Linked DNA regions of Homo sapiens: regions 2, 3, 4 and 5 are each linked to region 1. Evidence: promoter capture Hi-C in 16 types of primary human blood cells and fetal thymus (Javierre and others, 2016). All regions are on one chromosome and are shown on one strand. The core of a region is centred on a gene start or on the middle of the fragment in contact, and the rest is flanking DNA. Distances in the headings are between cores, read along the strand shown.

What was found. Contacts are between HindIII fragments. The CHiCAGO score rates a contact against its expected background, and 5 or more counts as called.
Region 2: a fragment that was not itself captured here is called in contact with the fragment with the promoter of ASAP1 in region 1 in 1 of 17 cell types (total B cells); the score reaches 5.1 in total B cells.
Region 3: a fragment that was not itself captured here is called in contact with the fragment with the promoter of ASAP1 in region 1 in 1 of 17 cell types (monocytes); the score reaches 5.1 in monocytes.
Region 4: a contact is called between a fragment that was not itself captured here and the fragment with the promoter of ASAP1 in region 1, in 3 of 17 cell types (naive CD8 T cells, monocytes and total B cells). The highest score is 6.5, in naive CD8 T cells.
Region 5: a contact is called between a fragment that was not itself captured here and the fragment with the promoter of ASAP1 in region 1, in 2 of 17 cell types (non-activated CD4 T cells and neutrophils). The highest score is 5.2, in non-activated CD4 T cells.

The regions. Positions count from the first base shown.
Region 1 is chr8:130,441,188-130,446,507 of GRCh38, reverse strand. ASAP1 (ArfGAP with SH3 domain, ankyrin repeat and PH domain 1) reads left to right here and starts at 2,834. Exons shown (of 30, transcript NM_018482.4): 1 at 2,834-3,048. RefSeq lists silencers at 2,750-2,849, 2,890-2,979, 2,990-3,149, 3,200-3,279. The HindIII fragment of the contact is 9,673 bases long and covers 1-3,993 here.
Region 2 is chr8:129,811,388-129,816,707 of GRCh38, reverse strand. No RefSeq gene overlaps it. Among named protein-coding and RNA genes, the nearest start is that of GSDMC, 27 kb to the right of the region's middle. The HindIII fragment of the contact is 792 bases long and covers 1,990-2,781 here.
Region 3 is chr8:129,856,090-129,861,409 of GRCh38, reverse strand. All of the region lies in intron 7 of CYRIB (CYFIP related Rac1 interactor B), which reads left to right. Among named protein-coding and RNA genes, the nearest start is that of GSDMC, 72 kb to the right of the region's middle. The HindIII fragment of the contact is 5,826 bases long and covers 1-5,137 here.
Region 4 is chr8:129,873,499-129,878,818 of GRCh38, reverse strand. All of the region lies in intron 5 of CYRIB (CYFIP related Rac1 interactor B), which reads left to right. Among named protein-coding and RNA genes, the nearest start is that of GSDMC, 90 kb to the right of the region's middle. The HindIII fragment of the contact is 2,784 bases long and covers 1,784-4,567 here.
Region 5 is chr8:129,912,059-129,917,378 of GRCh38, reverse strand. All of the region lies in intron 2 of CYRIB (CYFIP related Rac1 interactor B), which reads left to right. Among named protein-coding and RNA genes, the nearest start is that of MIR5194, 94 kb to the left of the region's middle. The HindIII fragment of the contact is 2,528 bases long and covers 1,496-4,023 here.

The DNA.
Region 1 (5,320 bases), core at 1,585-4,084:
CTTATCTAGCTACATAGGTCCCATCTCCTCCTTGAAAGTTCGTTCAAGAGCACCCACTTCTTGGAAGCATTTTCCAACTTATCTCCACCCTACTCCACCTTCAATGTTCTGAATAGCCCTGGATACCCTGGACATGACTCTATAAGAGTACTTATCTCTCTGCTTACTAGATAGAGCTTTCCTGTCTTTCTTAGCAAGAATAGTTCTTTTTCATCATTGCACATGTAGGGCCCAGATTTTTTTAGCACATTACAGGCACTTAACCGATGCCTTAAAATGAATTCAAGTTCACCTTGCTCAGGGACCCACTCAGAGCAAGTGGTCAACAAATGTGGACTCCTTTCCTCCATCTGATTTAGGAGAACAGTCATCTAGTGAGTATACAATATGACAAATATATTCTTTAAACAGAAATGCCAAGGAAGCACAAAGGAGGGAGTAATTAACTGGGACTATACCAATGAGACTATAGTTACCTCATTTGACAGTCTTAATTACTTAGGTTTTTTTTTTTTTTTTTTTTTTTTTTTTTTTTGAGACGGAGTCTCACTCTGTCACCCTGTCTGGGATGCAATGGCATGATCTCAGCTCACTGCAACCTCTGCCTCCCGGGTTCAAGCGATTCTCCTGCCTCAGCCTCTGGAGAAGCTGGGATTACAGGTGCCCACCACCACGCCCGGCAATTTTTTGTATTTTTAGTAGACACGGGGTTTCACCATGTTGGCCAGACTGGTCTCAAACTCCTGACCTTAGGTGATCTACCTGCTCGGCCTCCCAAAGTGCTGGGATTACAGGCGTGAGCCACCGCGCCTGGCCTACTTATAGTTTTAGTTTTCCAGAAGCACTAATAGAGCCATCTGGTGCTCCTTCCACCGCACTGGGCGTTCCCTTTTGAATCTCTCCACCAAAGAGGAAGCCACAGGGAGCTGCGGGACCGAGTGAACCACCCTACCTCAGGCAGAGGTCCCATCTGCAACTCTAGTTTGTTTGCTTCTTTCATTTATTCAACACGTGTTTATCGATGGTCTCATATGGGCCAGCACTGTTCTAAGGAAACAGGCAAAGGTACTGCTGTAATGCAGTTTACCCATGCAGTGGGGAGAGTGGGGGGCAGATAAAAAATAAGCAACCAATCATGTAGGCTACATTAAACAGTGACAAGGGCTATGAAGCAATCAAACAGGATGCGCTATGTTTGGGAGAGGTGGAGGTGGGGTGTAGGTGCCAGAGACAAGCAGATCACATGGTTGGGGAAAACCTATCTGCGGAGCTGACTTCTGGGCTGTGAGCTGCGTGCCAAGAACAGCCATACAAGGGTTCTTCCAGGCAGAGGGGACGGCAGCTACAGTGGGCCTGGAGCAGGACCCTGGGACTCCTGGTGCCCAGCTCAGAGCTGTCCTACTGCTTCTGGCCACGGAGAGAGAATTGCAGAAAAGGAACAATGCTGGGTCTAAAACTGGTATCTGTTCCTTACTTGGAGTAAACGAGCTGGTACCCAACTTTCAGTTCCCAGCAGGTTCATTTCAGGCTTCTGTTTTCGCTCATGAGCATGTTGTTCCCTCTTCAAAGTCTGATTGGGTTTCAAAGGAATCTGAAACACTTACAGCAAAACCACCAAGCTGCATCCTCCAGGTAGACACCCCCGAAATGTGGCATTTCCGTGGGAAACCACAATGAATCACTCATTGGCTGCCCGACCTCTCTGCCCAGTCAGAGATTGATTTTGGTTTTCCCAAACTTTGTAAATCCGCTCCAGACTGTTTAACAACCCCCACTCCCCACTACACCCAGACTCTCAGATTAGGAGCAAAATCCCAAATTTTGTGAGGTTTTCTGTTTCGGATTTCACCAGAAGGGGGTCTGCCACAGCCACTAACCATTTCCTCTGCAGAGAGCCGTTTCTGAAATGCTGCAAAGAAAAACAATCACCCAATGATTAGGAGGGAAATTAAGTTCTAAAGAAAGACTACTGTCTCTGACTTTGAAAGTAGACATAGATATGCACAATATACATCCCACAAATTAAAATCCTCCTTTCTCTGATGTCTTTTAATGGTAATAATAAGGACAAGCATGGCTATCATTTATTTGGGCGTTTCCAATGTGCCAGTCCCTGTCTAAACATTCAGCTTCCAGATCAAACCTATGAGGGTGGAATTAACATCCATTTCATAAATGGAAACTGAGGCTCAGGAAAGTTGAGCGAGTTACTCAAGGTAACATGAGTAGAAAAAAGGCCATATTCCAACCGGACACAGAGCCTGCAGCCCACACAATTACTCTCCATACTGTTCCTATACTATCCTGACTGGGAAGGTCCTGTTCCCTTGGCACTGGGCAAAAATAAAATTATAAGAGCAGAGAGGAAGTGGTGAAAGGGGGCAGCCTGGTGAAATCATTCCTTTACTGAAAATAGGGGTAACGGCCAGGACAGTGCAGGTCCATCCTCTGCAGATGGAAGACAGGCACGTCCTTTGCCGCTGTCCCGGCCTTAGAAAGGCACCTTCCGCGTCCAGGGTTTTCTGTGGATAAATCCCACCCCTTCCACCTCAGGCGGGGAGGAGGCCGGCCGGCCGGGGCATGGGGCGGAAGGCGAAGGACGCCCGACCCCGGCCGAGGTCTGGGGCCCCTCCCACGCCCCCCTCGTGGCTGCCGGCGGGCCAAGGGTTAAGCGAGGCGGGAGCCCCCGGCGCGGAGCGGCTCGGGGCCGGGAATGCTTAGTCAGGATTCCGATTTCCTGTCGAAGTGTTTGGATTTCCTGAAACCCGCGCCCTCCGCCGCCGAGCGGGATCGTGCGAGCCGCTCGCGTCGCCGCGGCCTCCTCCCCCTCGGCACATGGTCGCCCGCCCCTTCCTGCGCCGCGCTCGGCTCCCGCGCCTCGCCTGGCCTGGCCGCTGCCGCGGGCGAGCACTGTGCGCTGGGCAGCCCCGGGCCCGCGCCTCCCGCCCAGCCGGCGCTTCCCGGTCGCAGTTCGCTTTCCCACCCGAGAGCCGCGAGCGCCCGGCCGAACCCGCGATGGAATAATGCCCAGCGGCCCGCCAGGTCCCGGTGAGTTGCGGGGCGCTCGGGCGCGCTCGGCGGGGCCGGGCGGAGTCGCCCACAGTCGCGGGCGCCCCCTGCCCAGTCTCTCGCGCGAAGAAGGGCGCCGGGACGGGGCGCGGGGCGGGCTCCCGGCTCCTCTCGCAGCGGGGTGTCCTTCTCCGCGGGGAGGGCGCCGGCCCTGGGCTGGGGCGTGTGCGGGACGCGCGGCCAGGCTCTGCGGGGCCGGGCGAGGCCGCCCGGTGGGGGGGGGAGGTCTCCTCGCCTCCAGCTCGGGAGAGGGGGCCCCTGCAGTGGGGCCGGGGACGGGGCCCGCCCTGGGGGGTTTCGCGTCCCCCTCCGGGGGAGGGCCCGGGACGACGTGCTTGGCGGCCCGGACCCCGCCGATGGGGCGCCCTCCCGGCATTGTCTCTGGTGCAGCCGAGGAAAGTTCCCCGCGGCCCCCGGCCCCTACCCGGACCCGGCGCTGCTTGGCAGGCCCCAGGCCACTTGCCTAAAGCAAAAGAAGAGAAACGAAAGGGAAGGGGGTGGGGGGAGTCCTACTTGGAGCTTGGGGTTGGCTCCTGGGCGGACCGTGAAGTGGCTTGTGTTTTCTGCTTGTACCATTTTGGGACCTGCTGCGTTTTCTGAGAGCGACATGAAGTTTCAAAGAAAAAAGAAACTTGCCGGTGTCCGGTTTTCTGCGGTTTGATACATCCCAAGAGGTTCATCTTGGGCACTTCTAAAGCAGTTTCCTTTAATAATGTGGTTTTCCAGTAGCTCAGGGAGAAGGATGGTCAACTGCAGACCATCATCGTTAACTTGACCTCAACTTTACCTGTACTCGTCAGGAAAGCAAAAGAACTTTCTCTCGCATTTTCCCCTGTCTACTCTGTTAGGTTATCTTGGCGTGATTGATTCTGGGATGACATCAGGACCTGGATTGCTGAGTAATGTTTTGGGATTGTAAAAGCTTATCAGTTTTTAGGCCAGGGTTATCTGTATTGCAACCTTCATCCCAAAGCCTTTCTGTTTTGCAATTGTAGCGCGGCCAGATAGCTTTAAGAAAATGCGGGTCTTCTGGAAACACCCAGTGAACAGTTTGGAAAGAAAAAGATCTTTGAGAACAACTGATTCACCCCCTTCAGAGAAGGCCCAGAAAGGTGACCTGACTTGCCCAAGATCACATGGCCAGGAGTAGTTTCCACTTCTTCAGGCTCAGTCCCATGCCCCTTCTGTGTTAGATTTTGATCTGTTAGCCATGAAACAGATTTGGAAACGTCTTCTTTGCGTCACAGCCTTCACCACTTTAGTGCCTTCTCTTCTGTCCTGTTAATGCTGCTATTTTTGAGATATGCACTTATTTCAAACTGCATATTTTGAGATAGGGAGTTAAAAAAAACAAAAATCACCTAACGCCACTAAGTGGATTTGGAGATTCAGCTACCAAATGGATTTGAAGTATAAAATGAGTGGCTTATTATACGGGGAATTACTTTCCCTATCCCATTCTTTTGTGCAAAATAGAAACTCCCAGGTCCAAAAAAGGGCAGTATCTTAGCACATAATGTACCCTCTGATGTTCTCTAGACTTGATTTTCAGCCCTCCTGTTTCTTGTGAGCTAAGCAGCCCATCTATTTTTCTCATGAGAGCTCTGAATGGCTGGTTTTTCATTTTTAGTATGTGATAATGTTGGAGAGAAAGGACTTTTCGCAAGCTTGCCATTTGGTGAGGGAAATTGAAATTCTCTACACCTCCCCAGTCCTCACCAGCCACAGCGAGCCAGATTTTCAAAATCAGTGCAAGCCTGGCAGGCCCAAAGATGAATGTGTGCATTCAGATTGAGCCCTCCCTTGTGAAGACTCACGTCCCAGCTGGCATCTCCATGCTGCACCTAGGTGACTGAAGTCTAGAGGAAAGAAGGGAACCCCAGTTAGCTAGGACAGTGTTGTTCCTGCCATTTCCCCACCTAGGTCTCAGCCGTATTTGGATCCTGCTGCTCGGTTCTCATTTTTCCCTGCCGTTTTTTCACCCAACCACTGCTGTATCTGGCATGGGCTCCGGAAGGTCTTTTCTAGGAGACTGCATGAGTGATCCCCACGTGAGCAATAGTAACAGTCACCCCATTTATTAAGCACTTGCTGTATGCCCTAGACATGTTACCTCCTAAGAAGTCCTAAGGAGGAGCGGAAACTTCTTGGGGAGCCTTGCCCAGAAAGGACAGCACATCTCAGATTTATCTGGAATCGAGTTTTTCTTTCATGCATCCAGTGAAACATTTGCTAAGTGGCTTCCCTGTGG
Region 2 (5,320 bases), core at 1,136-3,635, 630 kb after region 1:
GGGGTAGAGCTGGGGGAAGCTCCCTAATGCGGGAATGATTCCCCAGTGTATTCGCCCTTCTGCCATAAAACTTTACAATTCTGGGCATAGGAAAGCCACCCTGACTCCCCTGGGTTTCCAGACCAACACAGAGTGCTGTCTGGAGTCTGTGTAGAGGCACTGCTCAAGACCATATGTAGCCCTATGGGCTTTTGATCCCTGAGCAGCCCAGCACCAGCTGACATAGCCCCACCAATAAGGAAGGACAAGCTCTGTTGCATGCTCCTAGGATAGATGCTACAGTCATGGTACTGAATAGTAGACAGACTGTGTGACCCTCCTCACCACTGCTGCTCCTCATTAGGCAAGACCTGCTAGCTTGGGCTCCCAGTGCAGCCACCCCATCCCCACCTGAACACTGCAGTTGGTTGTGGCTCTGTGTTCCTGTGGGACCAACTTTCCCAGAGGTAGCTGACAAGCCCTTCATAATCACCTTTGCCAATGCAGCTGCCCCTGCTACACTCAGGCCAGGGAGGAAACAAGAAGATGGGGCATTTTTGTTCACCATCAGCCCTGATGTCACAGCCAAGAAACAGAGGAACAATGGGGAGACTGCGCACCCCACAACTCCCTACCCATTTATTGGGTTGAATGATGAGGTCCTGTCCTGAAACCATTCTAATAGAGAGTCACAAAACAGGCATTTTTTCATGGCTCTTAACCACATTGTGGTCTAGAAGTAGACTACAGTGTGCTCTGACCTAGAAGTCATGAGCTCCAGAACAGGGGTGTGATAGGGAAACAGATCACATTCTTGCCTATCTAAAAGAAGGAGCCTGTGCAGCCTCTACTCCCCCTAGAGAGACATCAGTGCATTTCACCAGGAATGCCTCCCAGCCGCTCTCATCAGAGTTGATGTCTGCACTCACTATTGGTGTCTTTGTGGGCAAGCCAGGGGCTCCAGTTCTGTTAAGCTCTGTCCCCCTACATCCTGGGAAGAAGAAGCTCATGGCATCAGGCTATCCACTGTCCAGCCCATCACCTGAAACAACAGAGAGCATCTCATAGTAAACAAAGATCAAGTACTTACACATCTGCCTGGGAAGCAGCTGGCTTTTACTTGTAAGCACTATCTACTGACTTGTAGGCCAAACTGCAAAATCTAATATAAAACCTGCTGACAGAAGTACACAGGGGTATACAAGCAAAGCTGCAAGACCTTACTCAACATATTCTACAGACACACATCCTAGGAAGGGGCAGGAGAAGGAAAAGAAAAAATATATGAAGAAAGAAAAAAAAATCCACCTGTAAGAAAATAATTAGAAAAATTAGAAGTGCTAGCCTCTCCAGATGAGAAGAAACCAGCATAATTCTGGCACCATGAAAAATTTGAAGGCTGTGATACAACTTGTATTAGTCTGCTGCTAATAAACACATACCCGAGACTGGGTAATTTATGATGGAAAGAGGTTTAATTGACTCACAGTTCAGCATGGCTGGGGAGGCCTCAGGAAACTTAGCAATCATGGTGGAAGTGTAAGCAAGCAAGCCCTTCTTCACATGGCAGCAGGAAGAGAAGTGCCAAGCAAAGGGAGAAAAGCCCCTTTTGAACCATCAGATCTCATGAGAACTCACTATCATGAGAACAGCAGCATGGGGGTAATTGCCCCCATTCAATTACCTCCCACTAGGTCCCTCTCACAACACGTGGGGATTATGGGAACTACAATTCAAGATGAGATTTGGGTGGGGACCCAGCCAAACCGTATCACCACTAAAGGATCACACTAGCACTCTAGCAATGTTCCTAACCAAAGTGGAAACCCAGAAATGTTAGATAAAGAATTCAAAGCATGGATTATAAGGAAGCTCAATGAGATCAAAATTAATATGAAGAAACTACTAAGGCAATTCGGGAAATGAAAGACAAGAAAGATAAACATCATAAAAAGTCAGCCAGAAATTCTGGAGTTGAAAACTCTCACTTAAGGAATTATTTTGAAAGCTTTCTCAATAGACTAGACCAAGCAGAAGAAAGAATTTTAGCGCTTGAAGACCAATCTTTTGAACTAAACCAGTCAGATAAAAAATAAATAATTTTAAAATATTAACAAAGTCTTTGAGAAATATAGGATTATGTAAGGCAACCAAACCTATGAATTATTGGCATTCCTGAGAGAGGAGAAAAAGTAAACAACCTGGATAACAGATTTGAGGGAATAATTCAAGAAAAATTTCCTCATCTTGCTAGAGAGGGAGACATCATATATAAGAAATCCAGATTGGGAGGCTGAGGTGGGCAGATCACGAGGTCAGGAGTTCAAGACCAGCCTTGCCAACATGGTGAGACCCCATCTCCACTAAAAATACAAAAAATTAGCCAGGCACGGAGGCACATGCCTGTAATCCCAGCTACTCGGGAGGCTGAGGCAGGAGAATAGCTTGAACCCAGGAGGCGGAGATTACAGTGAGCTGAGATTGCGCCATTGCACTCCAGCCTGGGTGACACAGCAAGACTCTGTCTCAAGCAAAAAAAAAATCGAGAGGATACCTGCAAGATACTATACAAGATGAACATCACCAAGGCATATAGTCACCAGACTATCCAAGGTCAATGCTAAAGAAAAAATATTAAAGGCAGCTAGAGAAGAGAGTCAGATCACTTACGAGGGGAACCTCATCAGGCTACCAGTAGATTTCTCAGCAGAAACCTTACAAGCTGCAAGAGTTTGGGGGTGTATTTTCATCATCCTTAAAAGAAATTCCAAACAAGAATGTCATATCCCGTCAAATTAAGCTTTATAAGTGAAGGAGAAATAAAATCTTTTCCAGATGAGTAAATGCTAAGGGAATTCATTACCACTAGACCAGTCATACAAAAGATCATCAGGGAGTTCTAAACATGGAAATGAAAGAACAATACCTGCTACTGCAAAAACACACTTAAGTACATTTACAGATCCTATTAAGCAACTTCACAATCAAGACTACATAGCAACCAGTTAACAGCACAACTGGATCAAAACCTCACATATGAATATTAATCTTGAAGGTGAATAGTCTAAATATTCCTCTTAAAAGATACATAGTGGCAGCTATTGTCAAGAGACTCATCTCACAGTAACAACCTCCACTGGCTCAAAGTAAAGGCTTGGAGAAAGATTTATCATGCAAATGGAAAAACAAAAAAACAGCAGGGGCCACTGTTCTTATATCACGTAAAACTGACTTAAACCAACAACAACCAAGAAGTACAAAGAAGGGCATTACATAATGATAAAGGGTTCAATACAATAAAAAGACTTAACTTTCTTAAATATATATGTACTCACCATTGGTGCATCTAAATTAAAAAAACAAGTACTTCTAGACCTATAAAAAGATTTTGATAGCCACACAATAATAGTGGGGGACTTCAACACTCCCCTGACAGCATTAGATTATTGAGGCAGGAAACTAACAAATTCTGGACTTAAATTTGACACTTGACTAATTGGACCTAATAGAAATCTACAGAATATTCCACCCAGCTACCCAGATTATATATTCTTCTCATCTGCATATGGAACATACTCTAAGATTGCCCACATGCTTGGTGATAAAGCAACTCTCAATAAATTCAAAAAAATTGAAATCACACTGAACACACTCTTGGACCATAGTGGAATAAAAATAGAAATCAATACCAAGAAGATCTCTCATAACCACACAATTACGTGGAAATTAAACAACTTGCTCCTGAATGACTTTTGGGTAAACAACAAAATTAGGGCAGAAATCAAAAAAATTTTTGAAATAAATGAAAACAGAGACACTTATATCCACATCTCTGGGATGCAGTAAAGGCAGCGTTAAGAGGAAAGTTTATCATGCTAAAACACCTACATCAGGAAGTCAGATAGATCTCAAATTAACAATCTAAAATTGCAAGTAAAGGAATTAGAAAAGCAAGAACAAACTAACCCAAAGAAATAACCAAAGCAGAGCAGAAATGAGTGAAATTAAGACCTAAAAATTCATACAAAGGATTGATGAAATAAAAACTTTATTCTTTGAAAAGGATAAACAAGACTGATAGACTGCTAGGCAGAATAACAAAGAAAAAAAGAGAAAGATCTAAATATGAACAAATGAACGATCAGCAATGACAAAGATAACATTATAGCCAACCTCACAGATGCAAAATTTCTTCAGAGACTATTATGAATACCAATATGCATGCAAACTAGAAAATCTTGAGAAAATAAATAAATTCCTGGAAACACATAAACTCCCAATATTGAATCAGGAAGAAATGGAAGCCCTGAACATATCAATTATGAGTTCTGAAATGAATCAGTAATAAAAAATCTACCAACCAAAAAAAGCACTGGACCAGATGTATGCATAGCCAAATTGTATCTGACATATTATGAAGAGCTGGGACCAATTCTATTGGAACTATTCCAAAGTATCAAGGAGGAAGAACTCCTCCCTAAGTCATTCTATGAAGTGAGCATCATCCTGATACCAAAATCTGGCAAAGACACAACAAGAAAGAAAACTACAGGTCAATATCCTTGACAAACATAGATGCAGAAATCCTCAATAAAATACTAGCAATGAAAGCCAGCAGTACATCCAAAATTAATTCATCACAATTAAGTAGGCTTTATTCCTCAGATGCAAGGTTGGTTCAACCTATGCAAATCAATAAACGTGACTCATCACATAAACAGAATTAAACACAAAGACAGTATGATCATCTCAATAGATGCAGAAAAGGGTTTTGTTAAAATCCAACATCCCTTCATGATAAAAACTCTTAACAAACTAGGAATTGAAATAAAATACATAAAAATAATAAGAGCCTTCTGTGACCAACTCACAATCACATCAAGCAAATAGGTAGAGGCATTCCCTTTAAGAACTGGAATAAGACATGGATACACAGCCTCACCACTCCTATTCAACGTAGTACTGGAAGTCCTAGCCAAAGCAGTCAGGCAAGAGAAAGAAATAAAAGGTATTGAATAGGAAAAGAAGAAGTCAAATTATCTCTCTTTGCTGATGATGAGATTCTATACCTAGGAAACCCTCAAGGCTCTGCCAAAAGGCTCCTAGAACTGATAAACTACTTAGGTAACATTTCAGGTTACAAAATTGATATACAAAAGTCAGTACCATTTCTATACACCAATAATATTCAATCTGACAACCAAATCAAGAATGCAATATTATTTAAAACCGCCACCAAAAAATAAAATACCTAGGACTACATCTAATGAAGAAGGTAAAAGATCTCTGCAAGAAGAATGACAAAACACTACTGAAAAAAATCATAGGTGACACAAATAAA
Region 3 (5,320 bases), core at 975-3,474, 580 kb after region 1:
TAGGGAGTTATTAAAGCAAAAAGAGTTCAAAACAGTTTGCTTTTTCCCTTGCTTGGGAAAAATTATTCAAAGGTCAGAATTGTGTCTTCAATATGAGTAAGCAAAATTGGAACTCCCTTTATTGGAGGAGGAGGAGGCAGAGCAGGTAAGATTTAGCCAGTTAGCTCTTTGTTTGATTTTAAAGTTGTAAATGTGAAGCACTTTATTTTGTACAGTGAATAGACACAGGAGAGGAATAGTATAGATGTGTGTCAGAAATTAGGACGATTTGAATGTAGTTAAAACACGTACTTCCATATAGTTTGAATTTTTGAAATGTATAAACATTACAAATTAATCATAAGAAAATCATACTGTGATTGTTTTTTAAATACATAAGCCAGAAACCAGGGGGTATATACTGTAAGACTGAAGTCAAACTGGGGACCCAAAAGCTAAATTTAGACTTGAGAGATGTGATTTGTCTGGCCCACATAATTTTGAAAATTTCTACTTAGTTGCCAGGTTTAACACTTGGTCACTGTATGGTTTTTTTTTTTTTTTTCTTTAAGCCTCCAACTAGCAATAATTGATCTGCATGTTAGAGAGCCAGAACCACATGGCAAACCATCTCTGCCTCCATTAGTTAGGACTTGTGCTTTCTAGTTTGTAATAAGTTTTTATTGCTTCATGTTTTTTAATATCTTACTATATTTATATTTGCTATTTGGCCATTTGTATTTGTAACTTCTGAAGTTGAAGTTCCATTTTTTAAAAATGCCTATGTTCTTAAAAAAAAGTAAGACAGTTGCTGTTTTTCCTTTAGATGCAGTACAGCCTGTTAAATGTAATGTTAAGACAGACAGTAGTTTGGATAGAAATATTGTATAAATTATCTTTTTCTTACTGGAAATAAGAATTGTAATTTATTTTCCCAATTTTAGTATTAGTTATTTTACAGTATTTGTCTTTCAATCAAGAGTCTCTATAGTTTGTAGCTTTGCACTTTATAACCCAATCAGCCTAGGTTTTCTGTCTTGGTTGTCTTCTCTACTATATACAGCTTTTCTTACGCTGGTTTCTGGCTGCATTTATAGTTAAATTGCTTTTGATGGTGCTCAGATGCTATTCAAGCTCATCTTGGTCTTTTAGCATATCCCAATACACAAAGAATAATTGTAAAATAGGCCAAACTAGTTGGACTTAAGTGTTATATTTTTACCATGGGAATTAATCGGTCTCGTGGTGTGTGTCCCATCATGGGTGCTATTCCAGCACAAACAGCACCATGGAGCAGCATGCAACTATGAAGACACACATGATCCTTCAGAATCTTGCAGTTCTAAGGAGAAGGTTTCTTGGCCTGAGCACTACAGATACACCATGGGTTATACTTCAGAAGAAGGACCCTGATCCCTTGCCAGTTTGCATACTTACAATGGGACAGGGCAAGGATTACCTGCTTAATTTGAAGATACTCAGTTTTGCTGACAGGGTTTAACTACACTGCCCTGGTAAATGTGGGCGGCAAGCCACCCAGGTGCCGAGGCAAGAGACCGAGGACACGAGTTGTTCCAGTATAATAAAATATGAAACAAGAATAGTTATACCAGATATAGATCTTAGATATGATTACATATGAATATCATTAATCATTAATTGGTACAATTACTCTTTATTCCAATATTATAATAATCCTCGCTCTATAATCATAACCTAGGAAAAGCCAGGCCATACAGAGATAGGAGCTGAGGGGACATAGTGAGGAGTGACCAGAAGACAAGAGTGCGAGCCTTCTGTTATGCCCAGGCAGGGCCACCAGAGGCCTCCTTAGTCTAGCGGTGACACCAGCGTCTGGGAAGATGGCCGTTGCCAAGCGGACTGTGGTCTAGCGGTAGCCTCAGTGTCAAGGAAAAACACCCGCTACTTAGCAGACTGGGAAAGGGAGTCTCCCTTTCCCCGGGGGAGTTTAGAGAAGACTCTGCTCCTCCACCTCCTGTGGAGGGCCTGACATTAGTCAGGCCCACCTGCAGTTATCCGGAGGCCTAACCATCTCCCTGTGATGCTGAGCTTCAGTGGTCGCGCTCCTAGTCCGCCTTTATGTTCCATCTTGTACACCTGGCTCTGCCGTTTAGTTAGCAGTAGCAAATTAGTGAAAGTACTAAAAGTCCCTGATAAGCAGAAATAATAATGTAAGCTGTTTCGCTCTTTCTCCTCTCTCTCTCTGCCTTGGCTGCCAGGCAGGGAAGGGCCCCCTGTCCAGTGGACATGTGACCCATGTGGCCTTCCCTATCATTGGAGATGGCTCACACTCCTTATCCTGCCCCTTCGTCTTGTATCCAATAAATATCAGTGCAGCCTAGCATTCGGGGCCACTACCGGTCTCTGCGTCTTGGTGGTAGTGGTCCCCCGGGCCCAGCTGTCTTTTCTTTTATCTTTGTCTTGTGTCTTTATTTCTACACTCTCTCGTCTCTGCACACGGGGAGAAACCCACCGACCCTGTGGGGCTGGACCCTACAGTAAACTTGCCATACTTGCTTGTTCTGTACTTGCTTGTTTTGTTCTGAGGCCTTGGAGCCCCTCCTGTTGAGGCAGATACCTAAGGGAAGGTTGTATGGTCAGGTAGTAGGACAAACTGCTTTGTCTCCCCTCAGTCTTGCTCATGCTTTAGGGGCTTACATTAGGGACTGCCTCCAAGGGTCATAATAAGTCCCTTCAACATGTTAGCTTCGTTTCACTGGGCAGAATTTATCAAAATGTATTTTAAAGGCCCCAAATGCCCACCGTTAATTGTGGTCATGACTCTTGGTTGTCTTAAATCCTTTAGAATCCATGTCCTCAGGTTCTCTTCTGAGAGTTTGAGAGTAGATAGATGGCAGTTGATGAGAATAAACGACTGTTGTCTCTATAGGGAAACTCTCCCCAGGGGCCTCCTCTTCCTAATCAACTAGTTATTCTTCCCTGTCCTAGCTTGTGGACTGATTTGTCATCTTTATCATTCCTTCTAGTTGTCTTTTCCTTGCAACCTCCTTCTGTGGTTTTGGCTCCTGCACTCATCTGCCAGCTTCCTTTGGTTCTTCCAGAACTTAGGGCTTAATAGACTATTAATTTTCTCCTGGTCATCTGCTTTTTAAAAAATCATAATCTCATGGTTTTGTTTTAGGAGCTTCATCTGAGTCCAATCCCAGGCATCTTTTCTTTGTCCTCTCTTTCTCTCCAACTCATCCAGAGACCTCTGGGACATTTTCTGTGGGATTGTCTCCAGTTTCTCTCTTGAGACAGAGCATTGTAGGCTAGTAGGACTGACTTGTGCCAGCACAGGCCTGCAGGGTGAGGCTGATCTAGCTGCTTCAAAGGCAGATTAGCAGATTTATCATCTTGAGCTTCCCTTTCAACATAGATCTACCATGGAGGGCCTCAGCCATTCATAGACAAAAGTTCTGCAACTACTGGTCACTGACCATCCCAACTTAGTCAAGCGACCTGACTCCAGTCCCAAAAGTGGTAGAGAACTTGGAATGCTGAAATTAACCCTGAGACTTGATAAAGTCTAGGCAGATGCATTTTTCTTTTTTTCTTTAACAGACTATAATAATATTTTGTAAAAATGTTTTTTTCTGTTCGGTGTCTCTCTTACTTAGTTTTCCAGTTAACACCAACAGAAAGAATGAATCTTGGGAGAAGTAAACCATTTTTAAAATATAACCCAAAATGTTTGACTTTTAATTGATCTTCTTCACATCCACTGTTACACCTTGATACACCATCCATACCCCTATAGTCCATGCTCCACACTGCAAATGAAGTAGCATTTTAAAATGCGAATCTGCTGACGCCACTCCTCTGCTTAGATGATTTCTCTAGGGACATTAGGATGCCAAAGCCCGAGTACTTAATGTGGTCCACAAATTACATGTGTATGAATCATCTTAGTCCTGGTTACCCTCCTCCTTGCCCTCTGTGCTCCTATATTGGTGGTGTTGCAGTTCCTCAAGTATGTCATGCTCTTCTCAGTTCAGGGTCTGGCTTCCTGCCTTTCTGTCTGCAAACTCATGTTCATCCTTACTACATACTTCAGTCTCAGTCCAGGAGTCATTTATTCAGGGAGATCTTTTCCTGGGCCTTCCATTAGGTGAGGTCTTATTTTTATACCTTTCCACTGTACTTATTTTCAGCACATATCACAGCTGTAATCATTTGTCTGTCTTCTCTCTATATAATAAGGCTCCATATGGGCACAGGGAGCATGTCTGTCTACATCCATTTTCCCAGTGCTTGGCACAGAGTAGCCAGTCAGTACATTTTCAGACTTACTGGAAAAAAAAGGATAATAGCTGTCATTTAGAGTTATTACATGGATGAGAAATAATGTCTGTGAAGAAATAGTTCAGTACCTGGTATCTGACAGACACACAGGAAGTACCTACTATTGTTTTTAATCAGTAGATTAATGTTTTGTAGGGTTACAGAAGTAATTGGTACTATTGGTAGTAATCAGGAGGTTAATGTTTTATAAAGTTACAGAGGCTACGTACAATGTTGCTTTATTTCAGAGACAGTTTATTGTGGTAGAAAGAATAGGGCTTTGGAGTCAGAAATACCTAGCATTTACTAGCTATAACTTTGGGCTCTAAGTTCTTTGAAACTCATTTGATCCATCTGGAATGACCATGTCATAGTTGATGGTAAAAATCAAATGGGAGACTATATTCAGTGTACAGTAGATGTTGACTCATACGTAAATCTTCATAAATAGGAAAACTGGGGTTTTTTTAAAGTTACGGGCTGATGACCTGACATAAAGTTTTAAATTTATCATTAATATTTGTTTGTTAATCTGACATTTATTAACATCAGATCATAGTTTAACTCTGTAAGCTCTTATTTTCTCTGACCAGAATCTAGCAGCATTTTCCAGTTCTGTGATCTGTAACTGAATTCATTTGATTTCTATGGCTTTTTGAAATATTGAAATGAAATATTAGTATTTAGTATTTAATATTAGTATTAGTATTTAGTATTTCCATTATCAAACATGGTATTTATTAGCCTGGCATCCCAAAAGTAGCACTTATTTCAAAGGGACCATTTTGCTCACATAATGAATTAGAATATTTATATTGTAGTCTTGAAATGTCAAGTTCTAAGACAAGAAGCTTATTGAACCACATATTTTGTTCTCTTTAGTAGCTGAAAGCAAACAGTTTGTGGTTATAAATAAAGGATGTATTCAAAGTATGAGAAATTGGTAATTGATTCATAGGCATATACAGACAGTGTGGACACAGTGCCATTGAAGAAAGTTACTCAGCTGTAGATAATAGTTACCATTTCATAAAAC
Region 4 (5,320 bases), core at 1,926-4,425, 570 kb after region 1:
TCTAAATGAAAGGAAAAATAATGGGTTCACAGACCTTTAAGTAATTTGCCTTCTGTTTGTTTTATGTTGCATGACCTATTGTAATATGGTCTAAGAGTGGCAGGTAAGTGTCATTGACCTTGGTGCATGTTGCAAAGCTTTTGCTTTTTTTGGCTGTTGATATCGCTTTAGCTTGTCTGGTTGTTAAATTGAGAAGAATTATTAAATTGGTGTTTTAGTGTGAATGATGCTATTTTAACTGATCAATAGAAAATTGTTAGGAAAGGGTGAAGAGGTATTTCTTAGGTTTTTAATCATGTGATCCCTTATATTTTTAAGTGTTAGAATGTATTTTTATATACTTAAAATTTAAGATGTTTTCTGATTTTAAAAACAAAACAAATAAATCACTTAAACCCCAGAAAGTCACTGCCTTTTCCTCCAACTTCAATTTAGTTTTTACAATTTTATGTAATTCATTCTATTTTATGAATCATTCTAAACCATGGCAGTTCATATGAACACATCAATTTATAGCTATCTCCATTTTGTAGAATAATTTGTGGTCTCTGGTTATTTTCTACTTTTATTCCATTTCTATAAAGGATCTGTTACAGTTTGGGTACTGTGTACAGGCTAGTAAAGAGTAGTAAATCAATATCAGGTCCATGTGAAATTGGGTTTCAGGGGAAATTGGGTTTTTAGGGGAAATACTGTTAAATATTAGATGAATATTAGTTTTCTTGACCCTTCTCAACAATTTACCAGTGCTATGTTAAGTGCATGTTTAGCATGACTTTTAATCAGCTTGAGGATGTCGAGCAGATTGCTGACTTGAAGATATTCTTTCAGATGAGGCAACTTACATTAGAGCTGTATTTTAGTTTATTTGCATCTGTTTCAAACTTGGTCTTGTGTCTTTTTCTGCTATTCTGTCTCCCTTTTCCTCTTTGTCTCAAATTCCTTACATTTACAGAATCTTGACTTTGATAGTCAAGATCTTGTTCAAGACTTGGCACTTGATCTTTTTGTAAACCTAGTATTATGTTATGGTCAAGTGGGAAGCATGAATTTAAATGTAGTATTTAAAAGATTACTTGGTCTTGGCTTTCCAATCTGTGGGAGTGTTTGGATCATTTTATACACACACACACACACACACACACACACACACACCTTTTTTTTTTTTTTGATATGAGGTCTTACCCTGTCACCCAGACTAGAGTGCAGTGGCGCAATCTTAGCTCACTGCAACCTCTGCCTACCTGGCTCAAGGGATCCTCCCACCTCAGCCTCCAGAGTAGCTGGGACTACAGGCACATGCCACCAAGCCCAGCTAATTTTTCATATTTTTGGTAGAGATGGGGTTTCACTCTGTTGCCCAGGCTGGTCTCAAACTCCTGAGCTCAAGTGATCCACCCACCTTGGCCTTCCAAAGTGCTGGGATTACAGGTGTGAGCTACTGCACCTGGTACATTATTATAATTTAATAATAGTGACAGGAAAAGGTAAAAATTGCAAGCAACAATAATAACCAATAATGCAGAAATACATATAAAATGTTAACTGTAAAGGCAGATATTGTTGCCTATATCAGCCAATGTAGATCTTCTGGTTTTATACTTACTGGTATACTATAAATGAAATTTAGTGACAGCATACTGTATACCAAACTAGAGTTTACCCATTGTTATTTCTTATTTAGATTTTTAGATACATTGTCTTTTGATTCTAACATTGGCATTATCTTAATTTAATCTCTGTATATTTTTCTTCTTTTTGGAAATATGCGTTTGTAAAAGCTTACCTTATAAGCTACTATGGTGACCTTGGCCTATCAGATGGGTGTTCTCTTAAACCGTTTTATACTGCTTTATACCAGACTCAAAATTGCCAACATAGTTATCTGCTAATTCTCAATAACTTAAAGCCACATTATTTTTGCTAGAGTAATTAGTACTACATTGTTTATTTCTAGATGCACTTTAATATTCATGTCACCAGAGTAATTTAGTTTTACTGTTTTATTAATCTGATTGATTAAGTCTATCCCAATATGTCTCTGCAGTTGGGTGACCCAATATGTCTCTGCAGTTGGGTGACCCAATATGTCTCTGCAGTTGGGTGACTACAGAAATAATTCATGCAGATTACCTCGCTATTTGTATCATATTATATACAAATGACATACTCTAGTGCATTTGAAATGTAATTTAATGGAATCTTGTAGTTTACAAAATTAAGATTGTCTTTAAAGTAAATCATTATTCCTTTAATTTACTCCTCTCATGACCCCTGTAACTGTTTTTCACTTCAGTTCAACATACATTTATGCCTTGCCTCCTGTATACCAGCCAGTAGGTGCTGGGGTTGCAAAATAACTAAGATACAACCCATACATGCTGGAAGCTCTCAATCTAGTAGGAGAGGATAGACACGAAAGCTCATAATTTTGTTTTGTTTTGTTTTTGAGACAGGGTCAGTCTCTGTCGCCCAGGCTGGAGTGCAGCGGCATGATCTCAGCTCACTGCAGCTTTGACCTCCCAGGCTGAAGTGACCCTTTCACCTCAGTACCCAAAAGTAGCTGGAATTACAGGTGCCCACCTGCCAGAAAACTCAGTTTTACTTAAATTATTTATTTTCAACGTGTAGCTCATGAAGATACTAACTTTAAATGGCAGGGAGTAGATTGAGAATCATCATGGAAGACCTTTTTTTTTTTTTCTTGAGATGGAGTCTCACTCCGTCACCCAAGCTGGAGTGCAATGGCATGATCTTGGCTCACTGCATTCTCCACTTCTGGGTTCAAGTGATTCTCCTACCTCAGCCTCCCGAGTAGCTGGGATTACAGGCATGCAGCACCACACCCAGCTAATTTTTTTATTTTTAGTAGAGATGGGGTTTCACCATGTTGGCCAGGCTGGTCTAAAACTCCTGACCTCAGGTGATCCACCTGCCTCAGCCTCCCAAAGTGCTGGGATTACAGGTGTGGGCCACCACACCTGGCCCATCATGGAAGACTTTCTGATGGTGATGTTTGAATTGGGTTTTGGAGAGTGAATTAGAATGTTTTGAACTAATACAGTAAAGGACAGTAGAAAGAAGGAACAACATGGACAGAGACCTTAAGGCATGAAATGTCATTCTGTATTCAGTTAGACGTTTAGTCTTGATAGAAGGATTTTTTCCTTAGAACAGATTACACCTATATGATAAGATTTTATTTTGTTTTTATTTAATAATAGTTCAGTTAAAATATAAGCCCAAAATTGCTCCATAAAATTTGGCAGCAGTTATGCTATTGACAGCATATAAAAAGCACTCAATCGAGCTAGGTGCAGTGGCTCATGGCTGTAATTCCAGCACTTTGGGAGGCCACAGCAAAAGGATCACTTGATTCAAGGAATTTGAGACCAGTCTGGGCAACATGGCAAGACTCTATCTGTATGAAAAAAAAAATTTTTTAATTAGCTGGGAATAGTGATGTGTGCCCTTGCAGTGAGCTGTGATTTGCTCTACTGCACTCCACCTTGAGTAGCAGAGTGAAACTGTCTTTGAAAAAAAAAAAAAGCACTGAATGGGGGCCTGCATAGCCTCTTCTAGTTGTTGGAATTTCCTATTTTATAACAACAGTGTTAATTTATAGCTTATTCTAATGACAAATCTTTAGCCTCAGTAACTTCCATAACTGCTAGCTCACTAAATTCTAGTTCTTGGGAGAAAAGAGACTTGTATTTAGTTTTGTGTCCTTTCCCAATCTTAGCATAGTGCTTTTTAAATGATAGAAGTTCAGTAAGTATTTTTTAAACTTGACTCACTTACCTCCAGGGAAATCAAAATAGGAGAGTAAATAGAGGTAGTCATTTGTTAAGGGAGAAATAGAGTATATTTTCTCTGATTCTGTTATAGTGCCTTTCCATTGAGTCATGCATTTCCTCTATAGTTCTTGTGTCCTTTGTGTTACTTGTTTCCCCCTTATCATTTAGAAATATTGGGACCTACTCTAACTTATTTTTTCATTTATCTCTTGCATAGTTTCAGTTGGTTTTGCCCTGTACTTTGAAATATCTTTATTCTGGTGTCATCTTTCTTATATTTATTTTTCAAAAATGATATAGGATCATAGTTATTCAGAGATCAAAAAGCATAGTAGTCTCCTTTAATTCATGCCAGAGGCTTATTTATGTCTCTGTACCCTCTCATTCATTCAAAATGTATTACAGAAAATCTAGGTACTGAGTTTACAGATGTACCAGTGGTACATACTGTACATTCTGGTCTCTGTCTTGATGTAACTTACAGAGATAGATTGCGTAGGTTTATTAAGTGAATTAATGTAAAATTAAAGCAGAAAGACCCCTTATCACAATTATAATTTTTATCTTGACTTTTTATTTTTTCATTTCATAGTTAATCTTTGCTTCTTTTTATATTACAACGACTTCAATTTTAGCAGTTATATTGACTCTTTTTCTACCCTCCACCCTATAAGAAATTAGTGTGAAGTTAATAAAATTTTTAATTTACCTTCAATAAGAACAATTGAAACATGCCTTAATTTCCCTTGAACAGCTTTAAAAACTAAGCTTGATGAGTAATGAATATGTCTACCCTCAGTAGTAGATACATTATTTTGCAATTTTGCATGTCCTTTTGTAAGCTGACTAAATGGTACTTTTTTTTTAAATAGTAAAGCCATTTTTTTCTATGGAAAATCAAAGTGACAAGTCTTGGTTGCATTATATAGTACCGTTTTTTGAAAAAAATAAAATAAAAAGCTTTGTTTTATACAGCTTTTCCCCCTTCCTAGTATTTCACCCTTTTGCATGACTTGCTTTCAGTAAAGTAGTGCTTACTTGTCTGCTATTTTCTGTTTGTCTTCATTTCTATAGCAGTCTTCAGCAGCTTTCAAAATTATAAATGTGACTTTCCTGTGACAGTCTAAAAAATGTTTAATCATTGTGGTGCTGGGTGTTTTTCTCACCCTAAAGGGAAACTTAAATCTTCTCCTCTATTTTTAAATTTCTTGGTACTTATTAAACCTTTACTAGTTATTAACCACTTACAAGGTCTACTTAAGTCTACTTGATAATGTTTCGTTTGTATGTTAAGTCTCAGTGTCACATTTTTATGTTAACAGCTAGTCACCACACCTAAAATACATAGTCTAGCATTTTCAAACTTCACAGATACCTTTGATATATAATAGCTAAACTATTGTCCTTTGTCATGAATTCCCACTTCATGAATTCAAACTAAATACGTGTCTACTATTGATGTTATGTCTGTAGTTTCACAATTCCATATGAAAAAGTGTAAGACTGTCGTTTTTTGCATGTAA
Region 5 (5,320 bases), core at 1,510-4,009, 530 kb after region 1:
AGTGAGACCCAAATAGGCTATAGTAGGAGTCCTGGCTTGAACTGCTAGTTCAGTGGTTGTGTGAGTAGAGGTCTTCAGGAAATAGAATGGTCAGGTTTTTCAGGTCTTACAGTACAGGTAAGAATGATGACTGGTGTTTTCTAACTTGGATGGATGAATGGTATTGGTATGTATTAATACATAAACTTCTTTAAGATCAGCGCTTAAATCTTAAACAGTTTGGTGTTTCTAGAACCTAGTACAATATCTGCCACATGGTGGATATTTGATCTGTGTTGCTAATAATAGCTACAACTAAGTGAATGTTTGTGATTTTTCCTAAGCAGTAAACATGCATTCTCATTGAATCTTATTTAATGCTTGCAACAGTGCTGTAAGGTCTGTTAACTCCATTTGACAAATGAGGAAACTAATGCTTACTAGCTGTGTGATCCTGAGTTATGGTAATTGTCAGAACTAGGATTCAAACTGGTATTTGACTGGTTTCAAAGCCTCTAGACTAAAACTTTTCTACCTATATATGCTATGCTGTTTCCCTTCGTTGTAAAATACTTAAGCACTGCATATTAAATAGGGTACAAAAGACTTGAGAAACAAATTTTATCTTCCCTCAGTTATACAACTAACATCTGCAGCCAATGAGTAGCAGTGTACTATTGGATGAAAATGCTTTAGAATTATAGGGATTGATGTGGGCTGGAGTCCTCGGGAAAAGCCTGTTGAAAGCAGGAATAGCTTTAAATTGGCCCTTTAAGGATAAGAATCTTTTTAGAAGGAAGAAAGGAATGCCTTTTTAGGAGGAAACAGATTTCAGTACTGGAATGGGCATAGGCTGTTAGGGGGCTCTGCTCTAGTAGCATGTTTATTAGGAGTAGCCTGAAATCAGAATGGATATTCATTCCTAAGTGTGCCAGTTTGAGAATGTATCCTGAAGAGTATTGGGAGCTATTAGAAGTTTTTTTTTTTTAATAGAGCAGTGATGAGATAAAATTAGTGTCTCTTATAGTGCTTGACTAATATTAGGTACTCAGGTATTTGTGTGATAGAAATAAAGTGGGGAGAGAACTACAGAAGTAGGTTAACCATTTAGGAGATTATTGCAGTAGTTAGGAGTGAGAGCATAAAAATCTGAGCTACGGAAATGACAAAGAATAAATATGAATTTAGGAGAAATTGAAAGCAGAGGAATAGAAGCCTTTGTAGAAGAAAGTTGGATAGAATTTCATTTCAGAAGAAAGTAGAATAGAAGATTTGCATTTTATTACTGACTCTGCCCAAATTTAACCTTTCTGGGTCTCAACTTTCCCATTTGTGAAATGGAATTGGGACAAGATATGATTTTAAATTGAAATCATAAAGCTTATTTTTAGCTTTAAAACTTTTGTCTCTATGGGCTTTTTTCTTTTATTGAACTATTTCAGAGATCACCTATATATCAGATTTCAAAGTTAAAATATAAATACGAATGTAATAAGATGTCTTAAGTTCTAAAGCTTGAGTGAGATAGTTCTTCTGGAGACTCTAGGCATTAGATCCTCTAGATTACAGAGTAAATACATACCTTAGAGTAATGTGGATCTTGGAAAATGCAATTTCTCAGGCTTGACCCACAAAATTTAGTGGGTTGTGGCAAGCCTGAGAATCCACATTTTTGGCAGATGCAGATGGTCCATGGACCATTTTTAAAAGTTTTATTAAGCATACAGTTTGTGGAGCTTCAACATAGTTAATCACCTATGAAACCATCACCACAATCAAGATAATGAACATAATCACCTTCAAAGTTTTTTCCTGCCTGCTTCAAATCTATCCACCCTACCTGCCCCTAGACGCCAGTCAACCACCTGTGCCCTTTCTGTCCTTATATTAGTTTGCGTTTCCTAGAATCTTACTTTTTTATTAATTAATTTTTTTAGAAACAGGGTCTCACTGTGTTGCCCAGACTTAACTCCTAGAATCTTATATATGAGGACTCATACAATATATATTCTTTTATATCTGGCTTCTTCAACTCAGCATAGTGATTTTGAGATTTATATTTATTGTTGGATGTGTGAGTAGCTTGTTTCTTTTATTGCTGAATAGTATTCTAGCATATGGAAATACCACAGTCTGTCCATTCATTTGTTGATGAACATTTGGGTTGCTTGCAGTTTGAGACTACTACAAGTAAAGTGCTATGAACATTAGTGTATGATTCTTTGTATGAACATAATGCTTTCATTTTTCTTGGATGAATACGTAGATGGAATGACTGTGTCATATTGAAGGTGTATATTTAACTTTTTAAAGTGGCTTTGCACAAGTGTATAGGAATTCATTTGCACTGTATTCTCACCAGCCCTTGGTATGGTCATTTACAGTATTTTTTTAGCCATCTGGTATGTTTTCAGTTTGTATTTCTCTAGTGCCCGATGGTGTTGAGCATCTTTTCAAGTGCTTATTTGCAGTCCATTTAACTTTGGTGAATTATCTGTTGAAATCTTTTGCCTGTTTTTAGATTCAGTTGCTTTCCTTCTTAGGTTGTGAAAGTTGTGTATACAGGCAGTTCTCATTTTGTGCTGTGGAATGTAAAAATACTTGTGCAGACTTAAATTTTGCAAAGCAATCTTAGAAATTATGTTGTTCATGATTTTTAGAAATTTTCGTCAAAACATAACTCTCATTGTTGCAAAATGTATAGGGAAATGGATAAAACAGTAAAACTAGTATTTACTTAGTACAGTGTAATTTAAACCTTGAAAACTAAAGTGTTTTATTTATTTGTAAAAATCTTTTCAAGAGTAATTAGAACTGTGCCTGGTTTCTTCTTCCCTGTTGTACAGTGTGGAGTGAGCATCATTTCTAGGCCTTGGACAAGTTGTTAATACTTCTAAATTTGAATCAGCTTCAAACATTTTATCCATTACATTGTGAATATCAAGAAGTATATGTAAAAGTTCCTTTAATATGAAGGATTTTTGCTGGCATGACTTCCTCTGAGACATTGTCATCCTTTTCACCATAACCACTCTCTTATGTTGATCAGTTTACCTTCAGAAGGTTCCTCTGGCTGCATATTTAGTCTCCCTGTTGGCAGCGGTGTCACCATTCTCACAGTCAACTCTTTCTTTTGTAACTCCATTTATATTCCATTAGAATTTTATTTCCAGCATTATCGCTTTTGTTTCTTTGCTTCACTTTCGTCTTTGTTGGCAAATCCTCTCCTTCAGTTGCCCATTTAAAAAAAAAGTATCTCATGGATTTGTCACTGGGGACAGGGAAGTAACACAGGACAGCTACTGCTCTGCAGCCTGTACATTTAGTGAATAACAGGTATGCAGTGACTAGTGACTCACTTTAAAAGAAGTGATATGATTGGTCATGGATCAGGATATAAAAAATTGGAGAAAAGGATAAAACTATAAAGAATTCTGTATTTTCAGTACCTTCATTTCTCATTACATTTAAAAAAGACAAAAACTAGACATTTTAGAAAAAGTGTATTTATGGTTATGGTCTATACAATAGTAATAATGATAATAACATCAACTTTCATTTATAGAGTCCTTATCTGGCAGGGACAGTTTTAAATGCTAGACATATTCTTATTTAATCTTCATAATAACCCAATTAGGTGGTAGGTATTAATATTATCCCCACTAGAGAGAGAGAAACTTGTCCAAGGGTGAGGCTCACAGTTTGGCTCCAGAGCCCGTGCTTTATTTATACTAGTGCTACTCAAAGCGCACTTTGCAAACCAGCACTGGTCCATGAACTGTTCACACGTAGTCTGTGAAGAATTGGAATTTCCACTTTGTAAGTTTTTAAAAATTAAATATTTTTCTCCTCTGGTAATTTCTACAAAAACATTGGATCATAGTGGCTGGAAAATACTCTAGCAATGGCTTGTCATTGAAGAATGTGCTTTGGTTTTCTTAAAAAAGGATTAGCTAATGAATGCACGTGTATGTATTTTAAATGTTTCTATCAATAATTGCAATTAATTGAACAACTTCTAGTTCTGATTATTATGGAAAAGCTTTTACTGTAATTACAACACTGTGGGGAAAGACAAGGTTTATCTCAAGAGCTTCTGCTTATGTAGGCATGATTTTGAAAGTGGAGCAGATTCCAGGGGTGGCTCACGCCTGTAATCCCAGCACTTTGGGAGGCTGAGGCAGGTGGATCATGAGGTCAGAAGTTCAAGACCATCCTGGCTAACACGGTGAAACCCTGTCTCTACTAAAAATACAAAAAATTAGCCGGGCGTGGTGGCCGGCGCCTGTAGTCCCAGCTACGTGGGAGGCTGAGGCCGGAGAATGATGTGATCCCAGGAGGCGGAGCTTGCAGTGAGCCTAGATCATGCCACTGCACTCCAGCCTGGGTGACAGAGCAGTCTCCGTCTCAAAAAAAAAAAAAAAAAAAGTGAAGCAGATTCCTGAAAGTCATGGTATTGCATTGTAGGATTCACTTTTGCGCTTTGTATTTAAATTTATCAGCAGTAGAGATAACTTTAACAGCAGTAGAGAACACACTTGTTTTCTGTCACCGTAAACATGACACACAGATTAGGAATTCACTGAATCATTTTACCTGAACCACTCTTTAATATGCCTTCATTAGTTCATCCTGTTGATTATCATATAGAATTGTTTGAAAAAAAAATGACTTGCAAGAAAAGAAAGCCCCAGCCTGGGCATCCTAATAAGACCCTGTCTCTAAAATAAAAAAATAAAAATAAAGGCAAATTTAAAAAACCCAAGTCTTTGTTTTCATTGAAATGCACCTTCTCTGTTCCCAGTCCTCCCCTTCCCCCAACCCCAGAGTGCATCTGTGCATCTTTTGAGGTAATTATATGGCTTTTTTCTTTTAATCTGTTAGGGTGGTGAAAACAGTAGGTATTCTGAACCAACCTTGCACTTCTCAGGTAAGCCAAACTTGGTCATAATTAAAAAAAAAAAAAAACTTTGTAATTTCAGATAACTGCAGCATTGGACTAGAGGTGGAGAGAGTGGTACTGGGGGAGTGGTGAAGCAGGTGAGAAGCTGGAAGGAATGGTCATTTCAGTGCTAGTGCAGTTTGCAACTTCAGATAATTTTGGAGCATATATATATATATTTAGCAGGATGTATAAATTCAACTATTTGATCTTTTATGAAATCGAACCTGGGGTAAATTTGGAGCGTGTATATATATAAACTGTAAAGCTTTATTTGCCTTATGTTATTACCTCTGTTTGTATTTACCATTCCTTTAAAATTATGTGTGTAAATGTTATAAGGGGGTTTGAACATGTGGGGTAGATTAAATGAACACTAAAAATTCTTTCTTTTAACTA